Regions from separate parts of the Homo sapiens genome. Here region 1 is linked to region 2. Evidence: promoter capture Hi-C in 16 types of primary human blood cells and fetal thymus (Javierre and others, 2016). All regions are on one chromosome and are shown on one strand. Each heading gives the region's core, a stretch centred on a gene start or on the middle of the fragment in contact. The rest is flanking DNA. Distances are from core to core; before and after follow the strand shown.

Region 1 (2,700 bases), core at 22-2,521, 440 kb after region 2:
TATTTACTGAATGTGTTTGTGAAGGCTGTGCATCTGAATGTCAGACTTGCTAATGAAAAATTAAATGGAGTCCATGTTTTGGGTACGGCCCTAGGCCAACCACCCACAGCCATGTAAGGCATTTAAAATACATTGATTTCTCCCTTGAGTTCAGGAGTTGGAGACTGCAATGAGCTATGATGGCACCACTACACTCCACCCTGGGTGACAGAGCAAGACCCTGTCTCTCTTAAAAACAACAGGCCGGGCGTGGTGGCTCACACCTGTAAATCCCAGCACTTTGGGAGGCCGAGGCGGGCGGATCATGAGGTCAGGAGTTCAAGACCAGCCTGGCCAACATAGTGAAACCCAGTCTCCACTAAAAATACAAAAATTAGCCGGGCATGGTGGCGCGTGCCTGTAGTCCCCGCTACTCGAGAGGCTGAGGCAGGAGAATCGCTTGAACCCGGGAGTTGGAGGTTGCAGTGAGTCGAGATTGGCCCATTGTACTCCAAACTGGGCAACAGAGTAACACTTCGTCTCAAACACAACAGCAACAACAATTCCTTATTTCCCTGAAAAGTGTGCGCTGACCAGGAAAGAAGCTTTTTTCTCGTCCGCATGATAAACTGAACCAATCAGCTACAGATGCGAGGCTGATCCAGCTCGACTTACCCTAGAAGGAATGCAAGTTGATAATGGCCAATTACAATCAAGATCACTGCACTTCCTCATTTAGCTTTCCAAGCTGCCATTGGAACAATTTGCCAGCTGTTCCTCTGCATGCACAATAAACTCTTAAAACTTTAACTGGAGGGGACTGTTAACTTTTGACAAAATCCAAAATGCCGCTTCACAATCACGTGAACACCTTCCACTAACAACCACGGCTCATCTCCCACTCTAACAAAACCAAGTCCAGGCGTTCACCATCCATTCATTCTTCGGACTTTGCTCCTCTCGCTGCCGAAGACTTGACACCGCCAAAAATACTCAAAAGCTGGTGCCACAGGCCCCGAGAGCCGCCGCACAAACCCGGAGCGTCCCCTGCGAGCCGGGGGTGTGCGCAGTGGCCTACCCCCCGCACCCACGCCCCCCACAACACTCGTTTCCTTCTCCCCAAACCTGCTGACGGCTCCGAATCTCCGCCAAGCCGCCTCCACCAGGGGCTGGGCTCTCCTCTCGGGGTTCCCGGGCCTGACCCGAGGTCTGTCTGGTCCGCGCCCCTCGGCGAATCACCCCTTACCGGAGGAACAGACACAACCACTCTGGCAGCCTCAGAGCCTCTCGCTGGCTCCACCTGCGCGCGCCGAGCGAAGCGTCCCAGCCAGCGGCCCCTCTAGGACCGCGGAGGCTTCACGACTCTCTTGTCAGACAAAGAGAGTGGCGCCCGCGCGAGTGGGCCCGAACCAATCAACGGCCGCCCTCCCCGCCCAGGCCAATCAACGGCCGGAGACAGCACCGAGAGAGTCACGTGATGGACAGGGCCCCGCCCCTCCTGTTTAATCGTAACATAATTTAGAATTATTCTATGATTCAAGAGCGACACAATTCGTTTCTTTGGCTGTGTGTTTGTGGAGGGGAGTAAGGTTATCAGATAAAAGAAGAAAAATGGGCCAGGCGCGGTGGCTTACGCCTGTAATCCCAGCACTTTGGGAGGCAGAGGCCGGCGGATCAGGTCAAGAGATTTAGATCATCCTGGCCAACATGGTGAAACCCCTTCTCTACTAAAAATACAAAAAAATTGCCGGGCGCGGTGGCTCACGCCTGTAATCCCAGCACTCTGGGAGGCCGAGGCGGGTGGATCACCTGAGGTCGGGAGTTCGATACCAGCCTGACCAACAATGGAGAAACCCGTCTCTACTAAAAATACAAATAAAATTAGCCGGGCATGGTGGTGCCTGCCTGTAACCCCGGCTACTCGGGAGGCTGAGGCAGGAGAAGCGCTTGAACCCGGGAGGCGGAGGTTGCGGTGAGCCGAGATTGCGCCACCGCACTCCAGCCTGGGTGACAGAGCGAGACTCCGTCTCAAAAAAAAAAAAAAAAAAAAAAAAATTAGCTGGGCATGGTGGCGGCGTGCCTGTAGTGCCAGCTACTCGGGAGGCTGAGGCAGGAGAATCACTTGAACTCGGGAGGCGGAGCTTGCAGTGAGCCGAGATCCCACCACTGCACTCCAGACTGGCGACAGAGCGAGACTCTGTCTCAAAAAAAAAAAAAAGAATATTAGATCTTAATTAAAAGGATAATTGTGTGGCTTATGTAAATTACCCCCAAAATACAGTTTTAATGTGAGTAAGGGGTTAATTTTTTTTCTTTTTTTTTTGAGACAGTCTCGCTCTCGCCCAGGCTGGAGTGCAGTGGCGCGATCTCGGCTCACTGCAAGCTCCGCCTCCCGGGTTCACGCCATTCTCCTGCGTCAGCCTCCTGAGTAGCTGGGACTACAGGCGCCCGCTACCACTCCCGGCTAATTTTTTTTGTGTGTGTGTTTTTAGTAGAGACGGGGTTTCACCATTTTGGCCAGGCTGGTCTCGAACTCCTGACCTCAAGTGATCCGCCTGCCTTGGCCTCCCAAGTTTTGTTTGTTTTTTATTTCTTCTAAACAAAACAAAACAAACAGGATACACGTGCAGAACGTGCAGGTTTGTTACATGTGCCATGGTGGTTTGCTGCACCTATTGACCCATCCTCTAAGTTCCCTCCCCTTACCCCCGACTCCCCAAA
Region 2 (2,700 bases), core at 20-2,519:
GTCATAGACAGCTGATGATTTGGGAAAAGCCTAGCTTGTAATGATGAGGCTGGGTTTTGTTACTAGCTTCCTTCATCAGTTGGGAAAATCCTGTAACATTTGAATTTGGGGATTATCTGTCCTATCTCATGGGTTAAGAAGCTCCGGTTGAATAAATCACTTTACCTTACTCTGCTTCAGCCATACTGGCTTTCTTGCTTTTGTTTCAAGTCTGTTCTCTTTCTCTACCCACATCTATCCTTTAGATCCTTTTAGCTTTTAGCTTGAAGACCTTCCCTGATCATCCTTTCCAGAGTAGCCCCACCCCCTCCCATTACTGATGGTGTAACTCCAGTGGTCTCCAGCAGAATTGATATGCAGTAAGTACATGAACACATGAATTTATTTATTTATTTTATTATTATTGTTTTTGAGATGGAGTTTCGCTCTTGTTGCCCAGGCTGGAATGCAGTGGTGAGATCTCAACTCACTGCAACCTCCACCTCCCGGGTTCAAGTGATTCTCCTGCCTCAGCTTACCGAGTAGCTGGGATTACAGGCACCTGCCAGCATGCCCAGCTAATTTTGTATTTTTAGTGAAGACAGGGTTTCACTATGTTGGTCAGGCTGGTCTCGAACTCCTGACCTCAGGTGATCCACCCACCTTGGCCTCCCAAAGTGCTGGGATTACAGGCGTGAGCAAGCTTTCCTGGCCAAACACATGAATTTAATGACACAGTGAAAATGTTTGGAAACTGTAAAATACTGTACAGTTGTACCAGCTGACTATGAACAGGAAACAGACACAAAGCTGGACTAGAAAGTGTATGTTCATTCCTTCACTCAGTAACGTTTATTGATGCTTACTATTTGCCAAACATTGTTTTAGAATCTGGACATAAGTGGATGAGAAAGACATGGGCTTTGTCTTGTAAGGAACTTAAGCGTGTACAACATTAATTTCAGTGTGTGTGAGAGTAGCTGAAGTATTTACCAAGTGTACAGAAGGTCTGAGGTCGGAGTGATCACTGAGGAGTGAGGAAAGGCTCCGTTGAGGAGTTAAATGTGTTAGCTCTTCAAGGGTGAGTAGAGGTAGGAAAGAAGGTATTTCAGGCCAAAGGAACAGCATATTCCAAATGTGGTGGAGTGGGATAGCATGTGGTGTGTGAGAGGACTGGAGGTTGCTCAGTACTTCTGGAGCATGGAGCATGGGAAGGAGGATGGTGGGCCATGAGCTTGAAGAAAAAGGCAGGGCCTTATCATGAAGGATCTTGTTTGCCATAGTAAAAAGATTGAACTTTCTCTTTCAGGCAGTGGGGAGTTATAAAAGGGTTTTAAGGCAGGGAATGATATGATCGTTTTTTTTGTTTTAGACAGGTAACTTTGACATCCACGTGGATGAATGGAAGAGAAGACTAATTAGGCTGCTCTTGTACCATTTTAAGCAGGAGGTAATAAAGACCTGAATTAGTTCAGGGCAGGGATGATGGAGAGGGAGGGATGGAGTGATAATGAGCTGGAGTTGAATGACTTGGTGATCAATTAGACTTGGTGGGTGAGAGAGAGAGGAGTCTTGGATGGTAGTTCAGATTTCTGCTTCAGATGGCAGGTAGATGACTGTCAGGTTAACTGAGGTAAGGTACACAGGAGGAAGCGTAGTCTTAGGACAGAAGATCCCATGCTTGTGGAATGTACTGAGTGTGAAGTAATTGTGACAGGAAGTCCAAGGAAGAGGGACAGGAGGTGGGGTGCCTTGGAGGCTAGAGATAATATTTTAGAATCCTCAGCCTGTTCTTGAAGTCATGGAAGAAGTAAGAAGATGAGATTCTCCTAGGAGGACCACATAGAGAGTAAAAAAAGGCACAAAGAGAAGCTTGGGAAACACCAATGGTTGGTAGCCAGCAAAAGACATGGAGAGGACCCATCAGATAAATGGAAGGGAAAATACACTTGTGGGTGGGGGCCGAGGGAAATATAAGTGGATGGGTATGAAAGGGGAACATAGCCCTTAAATCTTCCATCTTCAGCAGTAATAGCTATCAGTTGTTCATTACTTCTTACGTACCACCCACAGTTCTAAGCATTTTTCATACTGTAATTCTTTAATCTTCATAGACATCCTATTAGGTGGATTCTGTTATTCCCTTTTTGAAGATGAGGCAACTGTGCCACAGAGATGTGAGGTTACATGCCCCCGAGGTCACAGAACTAGGAAGTGGCTATGCTTGAACTGAGGTCTTCTAACCCCTAATCCTTTACACTTTTCACTCTGCCACAACTAATCTGAGAAGACTTCTTAGAAGAGGTGGGATTTCAGGATTAAACACAATGGCCCAACAGGACAGGAGTGGATGGGTAAGGGTTACACTGGGATGGGCTGAATGTCACAAGGTTGACTTCGTAGGTGTTCAGGAGCCAGGTCACTGGGCGGAATTCCCTGATATCCGCCCATCTCTCCATCCTCCTCTGCTTAGTCACTGCCCTATTCAACCACCTTTCATTCCATCCCCACCCCAAGTTAGTTAGAAAAACATAAACTGCCCCTGGGTGAAGCTGCTTTATTTCCAAGCATCCCATTCTCAGCATATACTCAGATGGATGGACTGTGTTTTAAAAGTTGGATAGCTGGAAGTTCCCTAAATCCATGGAAAATATCCCCATCCTATACCCGTTATGGTGAGGGGAGAAAAAGAGAAAAGAGAAAGAGAAATAGCTTCATAAA

The links. The method cuts DNA at HindIII sites, captures the fragments that hold promoters and counts their contacts. A CHiCAGO score of 5 or more calls a contact.
Region 1: the fragment with the promoter of ZNF789 here is called in contact with a fragment that was not itself captured in region 2 in 2 of 17 cell types (erythroblasts and M1 macrophages); the score reaches 8.5 in erythroblasts.

Annotation. Positions count from the first base shown.
Region 1 is chr7:99,471,461-99,474,160 of GRCh38, reverse strand. It overlaps ZNF789 (zinc finger protein 789), which reads right to left and starts at 1,271. Exons shown (of 5, transcript NM_213603.3): 1 at 1,105-1,271. RefSeq lists enhancers at 982-1,271, 1,562-1,651, 1,872-2,031. The HindIII fragment of the contact is 10,687 bases long and covers 587-2,700 here.
Region 2 is chr7:99,915,431-99,918,130 of GRCh38, reverse strand. The region is part of intron 1 of TRIM4 (tripartite motif containing 4); the gene reads left to right. Among named protein-coding and RNA genes, the nearest start is that of TRIM4, 2.7 kb to the left of the region's middle. The HindIII fragment of the contact is 1,169 bases long and covers 685-1,853 here.